Linked DNA regions of Homo sapiens: region 2 is linked to region 1. Evidence: promoter capture Hi-C in human tissues and cell types (Jung and others, 2019). All regions are on one chromosome and are shown on one strand. The core of a region is centred on a gene start or on the middle of the fragment in contact, and the rest is flanking DNA. Distances in the headings are between cores, read along the strand shown. Region 1 holds the start of POLD2 (DNA polymerase delta 2, accessory subunit). Region 2 overlaps GCK (glucokinase).

Region 1 (6,963 bases), core at 3,829-6,328:
CGACCTGGCACCTGCCAGGGTCCCAGCCTCTGAGTCAGCCCACCTTGCCCTCATCGGTGCCACCTCCAGGCGGCTGTACATAGACTCTGGCTTCTGCCCTGGCCTGGCCTCTGGGAACTGCAGCTGTCTGCTTCCATCCTATGTGGATGGTGCCTGAAAGTGAATAGGGATCAGTTACCAGCCCAGTATCTGTCCCCTTCTCAATAGCACTGATTCCTATGGGGAACTGCTTTTCTTGGACTATGTATGGGTTTGGTGGGAGGGTAGTTCCTGTAACCAACCCTACAGGGTGTAGGAACCTAGACTCTCAGCAACATAACAGGCAGCAGGCTCCCAAGCTAAGTCTGGCCAGCTGGGCCACCTCTCCCAGATTCTGTTTCATGAGAGCATCATCCAAGAGCAGTGGGAACACTGGGGACGGTCCAGCCTAGGACTGGTATGCAGATCAGAGAATCCCAGATAGAAGGTGATTGCTGTTCTTCCAGTTTCTTGGCCCTCCAGAGCAACCATACTTCCCATCTGCCCCAAAACCTGATCCTCCAAACTCCCACCATTTCTGTGCATCCCCAATATCTAATAGATCAACTGCCTTTCATTTACATTTGTCACAACCAAATGATACACCTGCCCTTCACCCACTACTGAACTGCAGCTGGGTTAGTCCAAATTCAGGGCCCACGTGTCATTTCAAGCCTGTCTTGAATAATGTACACCTTCCTGCAATGTGAGGATGGCCACCACCTTGGTCTTATACCCACGGGTGTCCTGAGCTACATTTCTCATAATCAAAAATAAACTCAACACATCACTCCAGCCTGAGCAACAGAGCAAGACACTAGCTCTAAAAATAAAAAATAAAAACAAACAAATGAAAAACCCAGCAAACTTGGGGAAAGAGGAAGCACCTGATTTCCAGAGTTTCCACATCATGAGATGCAAATGTCCAGTTTTCAACAACAACAACAACAACAAAAAAAAAATCACAAGGCATACAAAGAAATAGGAGACTAAGACCCACTCAAAGGAAAAGAATAAATAAGCAGAAGCCATACCAGAGGAAAACCAGATGGCTGACTTACTAGACAAATACTTTAAAACAACTGTCTTAAAGATGCTTGAAGAGCTAAAGGAAAATGTGAACAAAGTCAAGAAAGTGATGGAACAAATGGAAATTCCAATAAAGTGATAGAAAACTTTTTGGAGTTTTTTTTCTTGGTAGCAAAAAATTATGAAGCTGAAGAATACAATAAATTCCCTAGAGGGCTTCAAAGGCAGATGTAAGCAAACTTGGCCAGGTGCAGTGGCTCATGCTCATAATCCAGCACTTTGGAAGGCTGAGGCAGGAGGATTGCTTGAGCCCAGGAGTTTGAAACCAGCCTGGGCAACATAGAAAAACCCTATCTTTAAAAAAACTTATATAAAATTTAAAAATTATAAAATTTATTTAAAAAATCAGCAATTTGAAGACTGGACAGGGAAATTATCAAATTTGAGGAACAGAAAGGAAAAAGATGGAAGAAAAATAAACAGAGCCTAAGAGACCTGCGGGACACCATCAAGCAGACTAATACCCATTGTGGAAATTCCAGAAAGAAAAGAGAGTGAAGGACCAGAGAGATTATTAGGAGAAATAATGGCTGAAAATGTCTCAAATTTGATGAATGACATGAATATGAACATTCAAAAATCTCGACAAACTCCAAGTAGGAAAAACTCAAAGATACTCATACTGAGATTCATCATAATCAAACTGCTGAAAGCCAAAGACAAGGAGACAATATCAAAAGCTGCAAGAGAGAAGTGACTCATCACATACAAGGGATCTTCAAAAAGATTATCAGATATCTTGGCTGGGCACGGTGGCTCACACCTGTAATCTTAGCACTTTGGGAGGCCGAGGCAGGTGGATCACTTGAGGTCAGGAGTTTGAGACCAGCCTGGCCAACATGGCAAAAACCCATCTCCATTAAAAATACAAAGATTGGTGAGGCATGGTGGTGCATGCCTGTAATCCCAGCTACTCGGGAGGCTGAAGCAGGAGAATCACTTGAACCTGGGAGGCGGAGGGTGCACCAAGCCAAGATCGTGCCACCACTGCACTCCAGCCTGGGTGACAGAGTGTGACCTTGTTTCAAAAAAAAAAGAAAAAGAAAAAGAAAAAAAAGATCATCAGCTATCTCATCAGAAACCTCAGAGGCCAAAAGGCAGTAGATTGATATATTCAAAGTGCTAAAAGAAAAAAATAAATCTGTCAGCTGAGAATCCTGTATCTGTATCTCACTTAACCATTATTTTAAAATAAGGGAAAATGAAGACATTCCCAGATAAACACAAGCTGAGGGAGTTCATTATCACTAGATCTGCCCTGCAAAGAAAGCCAAAGAAAGCCTTTCAGGATGAAATGAAAGGATACTAGACAGTGACTCAAAGCTGAATAAAGAGGCCAGGCATAGTGGCTCACACCTGTAATCTCAGCACTTTGGGAGGCTGAGATGGGCGGATCACCTGAGGAGTTGGAGACCAGCCTGGCTAATATGGTGGAACCCCATCTCTACGAAAAATACAAAAATTAGCCAGGTGTGGTGGCACATGCCTGTAATCCCAGCTACTTGGGAGGCTGAGGCAAGAGAATCACCTGAACCCAGGAGGCGGAGGTTGCAGTGAGCCGAGATTGTGCCACCGCACTCCAGCCTGGGTGACAGAGTGATACCCTGTCTCAAAAAAAAAAGCCGAATAAACGAATAAAGATCTCATCTATGGCCGTACCACCCTGAATGTGTCCAATCTCAGAAGCTAAGCAGAGTTGGGCCTGGTTAGTACTTGGAGGGGAGAAATAACGGTCTATGCTAAAGGAAAATTCAGGTGCAATTAAAGTAAAATTAATTATATAAAAGAGAATACATTAAAAGCTAGTATTATTGTAACTTTGGTTTGTAATTCCACCAAGTGGAATTTGTTCCTGAAATGCTAGAATGGTTCAACATAAAAATCAATAAATGTAATAGACCACATTAACAGAAAAAAAACCCACACGGTCATCTCAATTGATGTCAAAAAAGTATTTGACAAAATTCAACACTCTTTTGAAAGAAGAAAAAGCTCAACAAACTAAGAATAGGAGGAAACTACCTCAAATAATAAAATCCATAGGCCAAATCCCCAAACTCACAGCTAGCAACATATTTAATGCTAAAGACTGAAAGCTTCCCCTTTAAGATCCGGAATAAGACAAAGATGCCCACTTTCACCACTTCTACTCAACATAGTATGGGAAGTTCTAGCCAGAGTAATCAGGTAAGAAAAAAGAAATAAAAAGCATCTGAATTGGAAAGGAAAAAGTAAAATTATTTGTTTGCCCAATACATGTACAATGTTTCAGGTGAAGGCTCAGAACAGTACAACCTTACCAGCAAGAGTCCTGCTGTCTCTGTGTGAATCCCAGCTATTACTCACTAGCTACATGATCTCTCTTGCCCTCCCTGCCTCAATTTCCTCATGTGTAAAGTGGGAGAAAAATAATAGTTCATGCTTCAAAGGTTTTTTGTTTGTTTGCTTGCTTTGAGACAGCGTCTGGCTCTGTCGCTCAGGCTGAAGTGCAGTGGTGCAATCTTAGGTCACTGCAACCTCAGCCTCCTGGGCTTAAGCGATCCTCCCACCTCGGCCTCCCAAAGTGTTGGGATACAGGCGTGAACCACTGTGTCTGACCCAAAGGATTATTTGAGGAGCAGATGAATTAATGTGTCATAACCTCAAAGCAGTTGCAAAGGCGTTTAATAATTAAAATATCACATTTTAAATTAAAATATAAGGCTGGGCGTGGTGGCTCATGCCTGTAATCCCAGCACTTTGGGAGGCTGAGGTGGGAGGATCACTTGAGCCCAGGAGTTCCACACTAGCCTGGGCACCATTGGGAGACCCTGTCTCTACACACACACGCACACACACACACACACACACAAACTTAAAGTAGCCAGGCGTGGTGCTGCGCGCCTGTTGTCCCAGCTACTCGGGAGGCTGAGGCGGGAGAATCACTGGAGCCTGGGAGTTCGAGGCTGCAGTGAGCCGAGATCGCACCACTGCACTCCAGCCTGGGCCACAGAGCAAGACGCTGCCTCAAACAAACAAACAAAAACAAAAATTAAAATATTAAGTAATAATTAACGAGTGTTAATATCCACTCGTTGTGGAGACAAGACCTGGACTTAGGAAACAGGCCCAGGGAAGTAGCAGAACAGTAGCGCTAGAGGACGCCTGGGAGAATCAGCGCGCGGCGGGAAGAGCCCGGGAAGCTTAGTGGGGAAGCGTCTCTTGATGGGGTGAGGAATTCTATAAATTAGTGGAGATGGAAAAAAAAAAAAAAAAGTATTCCCAAAGTGGGAGACAGCACTCAGAAAGACGTGGTGGTAAGAACGAGTATGAGTAACGGGGACAACGAGGACACTGGAGATTGGGGAGTGTTGGGCTGGAAGCTGGTGTGCAGCTGTGGGCAAGCTAGGGAGGACCCCGAAACCGCCAATGCGTTTCCCGGACGCAGACGCTGGCAGGACGGGAGGAACCCCGAGACCCCGCGCCATCCCTTCAGGAAGAGTTACTTCTCCCCGGCCAAGTTAGTGGGCCTTGGGCCTTCTTTCTGTTGGGATCCTCCTCGCGTGTCGCCATCGCTACAAGTGGGCAGCTCTGCGGGGAAAGCTGGGACGCTGGGGGCTTCACCAAGGAGGCTGGCGGCCGACCACTGGGAGGTCTGGCGGGGTGACGACCACTGGGAGGTTTGGGCAGGGCCTGACGGGGTGACGCGGTCAGCCCACTGGAGGCCGACACCCCCCGTCAGCCCAACCCCTGCACGCGCGGCCGCCAACCAAAGACCCGCGGCGCCGGCCTGCGAGCCCCCGCCCCGCGTTGCCCAGGAAACCGAGGGTGTGGCTCCGCGTTCTCTGGGCGTCCCAGGGACTGGGCGCACAGTGGTCGGCGGGATGAGGCGCCTGGTGACGGACGGGGCGAGGAGGGCAGCGATTGGTGAGATTAGGCGATGGGCGGGGAAGCCGCGCGGGGATTAGCGAGTTGCGGCGATGGGCGGGGCAGGCGCGCGGGGATTGGCGGGATGCGGCGCGCCGCGCGGTGAGTGGGGTCCAGGGAAACGGGGTCAGCTGGGGGTGGCAGTTCCAGGCCGCGAGGCCGGGCTCCTGGGTCGGTGGGCTGGTGTCTTGGCGGACGTCCCGCAGCTGCCGCGTGGATCCGAGCCGGGGCACCCGCCGTGACTGGGACAGCCCCCAGGGCGCTCTCGGCCCCATCCCGAGTAGCGCGGCCTGGCTGCTGCCGCCATCAAGCACGTTCGAGCCAAAAGCTCCTAACGAGTCACTCGTTAGACACGTGTGCGGAGCCTGTGTCCCAGGCCAGTGCTGTCCCGTGGAGATAGATTGCAAGCCGCTAGGGAATTTTTTAACTTTCTAGTAGGTGTACGAAAAAAGTAAAACGAAACAAATCAATTGGAGTAAATCCATAAATATATTCAAACTATTATTTCAATTGTATGTGAAAAAATTATTGGGATATTCTTTGTACTATTCTTAGAAATCCATTGTGTGTCCAACCCAAACATCACAGTTGGACTCACCACATCTCCTGTACTTCGTAGCCCTAGGTGGCTAGTGGCATAAGACACAAAAATCTCAGCTCTCCTGGAGCTTATGGTCTAGTTGGAGCAGGCAGACAATACATTTAAAATATACAGTTTGTTAGAAGGTAAATGTTGTAAACAACAATAACAGTTGAAGTACTGGGGAGAGTTGCAGTTGTAAATCAGATGGGCAGGGCACAAGGTAACATTTGAGTAAAGATGTAAGAACTTGAAGGAGATGGGCAAGTGAGCTCTATAAGTATACGGGAGAGGGGCAAGCAAGAGTTCAGAGGCCCCTTGCTGTGGGGAGGGATCCAAGGTGGAGGAGTGGGAACCAGGAGGGGAGAGGACCAGTGGAGCAGATCTCATAGGCAGTTGTAAGGACTTGGGGCCTTATTCAATGAAATGAGGACACTTTGGAGAGTTTTGAACAGAGCAGTGACTGATTTATGTTTTGGTTTTGGTTTAGTTCTATTATTATTTAATAATAGGCTTATTATTTCACAGAAGTTTTATTTAATAAGGCAGACCTCTTGTCTGGAAATGAGACAGGTGCCGGAGAGCTGGATGGAGGCAGATCGGGAATTCCATTTGGGGCAAACTGAACTTGATTGAGACCCTGGTAGTTGTCCAGATGGAACAGGACACCTGAGTCTAGGGTTCGGGAAGAACTCCAGATGGGACAAACACTCCTAGCTTTCCTTTTCTCTTTTTGGATGACCGCTACAGGGTGAGACATCGGTATCCAGGCACGATAAATTTCCAAGTGGACACAATGTCTGGTGTCAACTACAGCTGTTCTCCTTCTTTTCCCAGTATCCTTTGGGTGCAGTGAGACACCAGGAGAGCTGCTGCTTTGGGGGATGGACAGGGGCAGCAGGAATGCCTTTGTGTTTTCGCAGTGAACCTCCTTGGCCTGGGCGAAGCTGTGTGGACCAAGCAAGTCAGGAGTGTGGCCATGTTTTCTGAGCAGGCTGCCCAGAGGGCCCACACTCTACTGTCCCCACCATCAGCCAACAATGCCACCTTTGCCCGGGTGCCAGTGGCAACCTACACCAACTCCTCACAACCCTTCCGGCTAGGAGAGCGCAGCTTTAGCCGGCAGTATGCCCACATTTATGCCACCCGCCTCATCCAAATGAGACCCTTCCTGGAGAACCGGGCCCAGCAGCACTGGGGTAAGTGAGAGTTTGGGAAGGTGCTTCCCCCACAGCATCCCTGAACTTAGAAGTGTTCTGCAAGAGAATGGGAACAGTTTATCTAATTGATCCCACTTCCTGTTACCTTGGGAAAATTAACCTCTTTTTCCCTCAGTTTCTTCTTAAGATAGTAACAAGGATTAAATTAAG
Region 2 (6,760 bases), core at 1,248-3,747, 39 kb before region 1:
TTTCACCATGTTGGTCAGGCTGATCTTGAACTCCTGACCTCAAGTGATACACCCACCTTGGCCTCCCAAAGTGCTGGGATTAGAGGCATGAGCCACCATGCCTGGTCTAAAGTGTAATTATTATTACAGCTGCCATTTGGCCTCCTTGGTTTCTAATGAGAAATCATCTGTTAAACTTATTGCAAATCCTTGGTATGTATGCTATGTGTCATTTCTCTCTTGCTGCTTCCAAGATTCTCTCTCTGTCTTTGTCTTTTGACAATTTGACTATAATGTGTTTCAGTGTGAATTTCTTAGAGTTTATCCCACTTGGATTTCATTGAGCTTCTTGGATGTGTACGTTTGTCTTTCACCAAATCTGGGAAATTATTTCACCATTTCTCAAATATCTTTTTCTTCCCCTTTCCATCTCTCTTCTTCTGGAGCTCCCGTATACTTAGTTGGCATGACTGATGGTATCCTACTGGTCCCTCAGGTTCTGTTCATTTTTCTTCTTTCTTTTTTTCTGCTCTGCAGACTGGATAACTTCAATCGCCTTTTCTTCAAGTTCAATGATTATTTCTTCTGCCTGCTCAAATTGGCCATTTAACCCCTCCAGTGACTTTTTCATTTCAGTATTGTACTTTTCAGATCCAGAATTTCTATTTGGTTCCTCTTTAATAAATTCTTTTTATTGTCATTCCCCATCTGTTCATACATTGCTCTCCCAATTTCCTGTAGTTCTTTGTCCATGGTTTTCTTTAGTTAATTAAGCATATTTAAGACAGTTGACTTAATGTCTTTGACTAGTAATTCCAATGTCTAAAATTCCTTATGGATAGCTTCTTTTAAATTATTTTTGTCCTGTTAGAGAGTCATATCTTCCTCTTTATTTGCTTTGTAATACTTTGTTGAAAACTTAACATTTTGAGTAGTAAAATGTGGTAATTCTGAAGCCAGATTCTCCCCCTCCTTTGAGATTGGTTTTGTTGTTTGTTGAGGGCTGCAGTTGTCCATTTGTATAGTGACTTTTCCAAACGATTTTTGCAAAGTATGTATTCTCTCTTGTGTCTGGTCACTGACGTTTCTGTTCTGGTGCCTCTGCAGTCAGCCTATGACCTGGAAGAGCATTCCTTAAATGCATAGATTTTTTTAAAACCCAAGAAACAAAAAACCTAGCATGTATGTACCTTTTTAAAAATCTTCTGATAGATGCCACCTGGAAGGCTGCTGCTGCCTGAAGGGGCAGAAACAAAGGCAAGCTCTACTCTGAGCCCTCAGGGAACCACCAGATAAACAAAAGAAATTTGATTCTCCAAATTTCTGGAAGACAAGGTCCTTTCTGCCCACTCCTGCTCCAGCCAGCTGCTCTAGGAACACAATTACTGTCCACATGGCCACAGGAATGTTGAAGAATGCAGGATGGTAGCTGGTTTGCCCACACCACTCACTTATGAGCCATCAGCATGCCTCTCCCTTCATCGAGCACTCCCATGGTTGCTGTAAGTGTCCAATCAGGTTCCAGAATTCTGAAAGAGTTGACTCTTACAGGATTTTTTTCTTTTCTAACTTGCTGGTTGTTTAGATAGAGGAACCAATTCCTGAAGTTTCCTACGTTGCCAGCTTCATGAGGATCATTCCCTAGTAACTCTTTTCAGACAAAAAGCTTCATTGATTTACTGTAGGACTAGCATCAAAGAGTCTATGCCACCTAGTCTGTCTCCTTAAAACACAGAAATAATCAGTATGCATTGGGGTAGGAGTTTGGCATTAGATCTGCCGTAAATCAAGAGCTGGGGACAGCCCATGTCTTAAACTCTGACCCAAGGGCTAAAATATCCTTTGGTAGCAACAACAGCTACAAACTATTGAACAACTTGTATGTGCCAAGAGCCTTACCTGCATTATCCCATTGAATCCTCTCAACAGCCCTGTGAGGTAGTAGAATTGTTGCCTGCCCCTTACTGAGGCCTAGAAACATTAAGGAATTTGCCCGAGGCCCTAGAGCCAGTGAGTGGCAAAGCCAGTCTCCAGACTCAGGCTGGAGATCCTACAGTTCTGTGTTACCCCAGTGTTATCCTGCCTCTCAGCACAGAGTCTTGGATGATTCTCCTAACCCCTCCCTAGGCAATGCACAGGGCTGCTCCCTGCACCCTTACTCATGCTCTGCTCTTCAACCCCAACAGTGCTGGCCTTAGGCTTTATCCCTGACACCCAGCCCCAGGCTCCATTCCATCTGTTGACAGAGGCAAACACTGGGGCAAAACTGACCTCTGTGGATACCACTGTGTCCACCTCCACCAGCTTCAGCTGAAGCCTCTGAACATCTCCAGCATGGAAGAAGCCCCAAAGGATATTTCCTGTCCCCCAGCATATGCTTGACCCTGAAGCCCTCCCCATCTAGTCAAGAAGACCAAACTGTTAACAATCCTGGAGTCAGAGTGACCCATGGGTGAATCTTAGCCAAGTCACTCATAGCTGTTGCATCCTAGTAAATCCCTTAACTCCCATAGGCTTCAGTTTCCCTGCATATAAAATGACAGCCTTCAGCTCATCGGCCAGTTTCAATCCATCTAAAGGGTCTAGCACATCCCCTGGCATGTGGAAGCCACAGGGCACACACTAGTTGTGGTCATTTGATCCTGGCATGCTCTGCTGTCTCTCGGCTCTCCCCTTGCCTCTTTCCCTGATGTCCTGGCCATCAGCCACTGCCTAACACCCTCCCACTCACCAGGCCCTTAGCCTGCCCCTTAGCACAAGAGCACAGCCGGTCTCAAGTCTACCCTGCTGTAAGCAAACACTTGCAACATCATGCTGACCTCCAGGCCCTGTTGCATCAGCGTGCCCACACTTGGTGCCCAGCTGGTACTGAGGGTATCAGGGAACAGGCCAGTGGTGGAAGGGCGGACACTTTGGGTTCCCTGGTTTCCTGGCTCCCAATATCTTTCCCAATGGCATATGGGGTCTAGCAGCTTGGCTCATTTAACTGTGAACCTCTACCCTTTAGAATCTGGGCCTCCAGGCTTGCTTCTGTGCAAAATGGCAGATAAGGCTCAACCTTTCTTTTTTTAACTTCATTGTTAAATATTACTCCATTAATACCCATTTACTGCAGAAAAGGTAGGAAATACAGATAAGCAAAAAGGAAAATAAATTAAAATCCTCATACCACCATCATCAAGATAATTACTGTCACCATTTTGGTATATTTCCTCCCAATACATATATTATCTATATCGTATATACGACAAAAATGGATCATACTATGTTTCCTGTTCTTCCCCTGTGTTAGTCATCTATTGCTGTATAACAAACTGCCTCAAAACTTAGTGGCTTCACCTTTCCGTGTATTATGATGACAAGAATGTGGTATGACACTGTCTTATATCTGGATCATATGCTAAAAGATAGAAAATGGTTTCTAAACTTATTTGTTCTGTAATAACAAAATTTTATTTCATAAAGTGTTTTTAAAAAAAACCATAGTAGCTTGAAACAACAAACCTTTGTTATCTCACACAGTTTCTGTAGGTCAAGAATTCAGAAGCAGCTTAGCTGGGTGGTCTGGCTTGGTGTCTCTCCTGAGGTCAGGGTTTTGGCTGGGGCTGCATCACCTGAAGGCTTGACTGGGGCCAGAGGAGCTGCTTCCAAAGTGGTCCACTCACATGGCTGGCAAGTTGGAGTTGCGTATTGGCAAGAGACTTCGCTTCTTCTCAATGGATCTTCCCAGAGTTCTTGTAGGCAACCTCATAGCATAGCAGTTGGCTTCCCCCAGAGGGAACAGTCCAGGAGAGAACAAGGCAGAAACCACAGGGTCTTTTCTGGCTTAGGCTCCAAAGTCATACTCCACCATTTCTGCATTATCATATTAGTTACACAGGCTAGACCTATTCTGCATGGAAGAGACTATACCATGGGGTGAATACCAGAAGCAGGGCTAATTGAAGGCCAGCTTCAAGGGCGGCTACACATTCCCTTTCAACAGTATGTCATGAACATCTTTCCATGCCAATAGAGCAGATGAATCTTACCATTTTTAATGACTACATGTAAGTGTAGCATAATTTATTTAACCAACCTCCTGTAGTTGGGTATGTGGGTTGTGTCTCGTTTTTTGATAGTAGAATTAATCATCTTGAATATCCATCACCAAACTTGTCATATTATTTTCTTTTGATGAATGAAAAAGAAAATCAAGTCATGTCTGTCAATCAGAACCCTGAGCAACTAAGAAATGGGGGTACCACTGGGACATAGAGCAAGGTCCCTTCTGATTCTGCTCTTGTCTTTCTCTCCCCATGAAATGGGGAGTTCACTATCTACTGAGACATCCTAGCCCACAGCTGCACAGTTCTGTCTTTTTAGAAAGCTCTAAGCAGAAACAATGTTCATCCATCCTCCTCGGGACAGCCCTTGAGCTACTGAAGACTCTAAGCATGTCCTGGTCATCCTCCATGAGCCATCATCTCTGAGGCCCTCCCCTTCTTGGCCCCTCTTCTCTGGACAGGTTCTGGACAGTCTTGCCCTTCCAAAATTCCTGGAAAGCAGGAACTGTTCCTGCTACAATGACTCTCAACTCCAGTGCAGTACAGACTGTTGGTGTCACCCCTTATCCTGAAGAAGAGGCACTGAGACAGGACAAGGGTGGGTGCCCAGGAGGGCTGGCATGAGTCATGAGAATCTGGTCCCGGAGAATTAGACGGTGTGGGGAAGTAGGGGTGTTGGGCCGCTTTCTGGCCTCATGGATGCCAATGAATATCAGCAGGTGGCTCCCAGAAAGGAACTCTAGGGGATGCCTGTTGCTCTAAATAGAGGCTAGAGAGGGCACTGGCAGTTCAGTCAACCAAGAAAGGGGGCCCACTTGCCTCAGCTTCAGGCTTTGTACACATCCTCAGCCTTTCTTGAGAACTGAATTTAGATTCTCCTCCCCTGTGCTGTGTGCTTGGCCCAGAAGAAGGGCAAGTCTCGCTGGGTGGCTGCTTCTTGGCCTGGCTGAACCAGAAGGCCCCAGTGCCACTCCAAACCTGGGTGTGAGCCCTGCCCCCATGAGCAAACAGTAGCTCAGAGCTGGGGGCTGTGGGGGTCAGTGGCCTGTCACATGAGATCTGATGAGGCCATCTCTGCTCTATATTGGGAAAGGGATCAATTGTATCAAGGGCTTTCTTGGGAGTGATCACTCTGGCCATTGGCGAGAGACCTGGCATTCTGACAAGGCACCCTCCATACCCTGACCCACTTGCCAGCTCCAGCTAATTTTAGCAGGCTTTGGCAGGTGCCAGCAAGTACATAGCATGTGGATGTCACTCCCAGGTGAGCCCAAGGAGAGGCCTGGGCCAGAGCCTGGAAGTCATGGTCTATGCCCATGGAGGCACCCAAAGCAAGCCTGAGGCCTGGACTTTGCAGTCACAAAATTAAGAATGATACCCCTGTTTTTTGTTTGTTTTTGATCAGTTGGCCACCTTCCTCCACCACCCCTTCCCCAAGTTCCATACAGACCCCTGGATTGTATGAAATGCAAATCGAACCTCTCTGCAGATGAAAATCCACTGGGGATCCCCTTGCCTCCAAGAGCAAGTCCAGACCTGCACCAGCGCGGGCCAGGCCCCCTTAGGACCCCCTCCCTGTCCAAGGGCATTTCAGTAAGTGTTCTGTGGCCAAGGCAGCCTGGTGACTTTCTGCCCGCACAAGGCTGAGGAATGGAAGATGGGTAGGCTGGCTCTGCACACCCCCTCCTGCTGGGCAGCAATCCCTACCCCATGTTCACAGAGTGTGGCCGGCTGCCCCATGGCTCTGTCCCCGTGGCCCTGTCAACTGTTACCCACATGGCCTACCCTCCCTTTCTGCCCTGCCTCTGACCCCATGGCAGGGGGCAGAGTATTTGAGCAGCCGCCAGGCTGAGCCCTTTCAGTGCAGAAGCCCTGGGCTGCCAGCCTCAGGCAGCTCTCCATCCAAGCAGCCGTTGCTGCCACAGGCGGGCCTTACGCTCCAAGGCTACAGCATGTGCTAGGCCTCAGCAGGCAGGAGCATCTCTGCCTCCCAAAGCATCTACCTCTTAGCCCCTCGGAGAGATGGCGATGGATGTCACAAGGAGCCAGGCCCAGACAGCCTTGACTCTGGTAAGGGTCACACCAAAGTTAGGGACTTTGCACTGGGAGAGCAGCACCCAGGGCAGGGCCCTTGGTTTTGCAGATTACCAAAACTAAGGCTGGGGGCAGGGAAGGCGAGCAGGCTTGGGGCACCTTGGAAGGAGGCACATGGGCCTTGGGGGTCCTGGCTAGGGCAGCTGTGCCTGCCACTGGCCCTCTGCCCACCACCCCTCCTCACTGTGGCTATCCAGTGTCCAGCCTCTCGAGGGGTTCTAGGGTACTTATTCCTGGAGCTAACGGTGACCCAGGACACCAGTGTCCGGGGCCTGGCCTGGGGCTTTTATGGGGGGAGCTGGCTGGCTGCCCAGGGCTGTCTGGCTCTCTGGGGGCTCTGCATGGCATTTCCAGGGGTTGGTGGATCAGGGATTCTGTCCCTCAGGAGAATGTGGGCACTAGCCCAAGGCCACTCACTTCTGTGTACATAGCCACCTGAGGGCCCAGGAATGGAGGGGGCCAGGCTACAGCTGGACATCTGGCACTCGGATGGGCTCTGGAGCCCCCAGGCCTGCAGCATCTGCCCAGGGACTGCCCTGGCCCTTGGCCATTTCCTCAGGGACCCACAGCTCCACCAGCCGGCCCCTCCCAGTGCTGGAATAGACAGTTCCTCAGTCCACATCTGCCAAAGGCGGCACTAG

Evidence for each region. Contacts are between HindIII fragments. The study calls those that stand out against the background at their distance.
Region 2: a fragment that was not itself captured here is called in contact with the fragment with the promoter of POLD2 in region 1 in 1 of the 25 tissues and cell types used here (mesenchymal stem cells).

Annotation. Positions count from the first base shown.
Region 1 is chr7:44,121,663-44,128,625 of GRCh38, reverse strand. POLD2 (DNA polymerase delta 2, accessory subunit) reads left to right here and starts at 5,078. Exons shown (of 11, transcript NM_006230.4): 1 at 5,078-5,115; 2 at 6,517-6,792. The coding sequence starts at 6,573. It also overlaps the pseudogene RNA5SP230. RefSeq lists enhancers at 4,413-4,472, 3,992-4,896 and a silencer at 4,683-5,392. The HindIII fragment of the contact is 6,473 bases long and covers 3,747-6,963 here.
Region 2 is chr7:44,158,408-44,165,167 of GRCh38, reverse strand. All of the region lies in intron 1 of GCK (glucokinase), which reads left to right. Among named protein-coding and RNA genes, the nearest start is that of MYL7, 20 kb to the right of the region's middle. The HindIII fragment of the contact is 4,625 bases long and covers 185-4,809 here.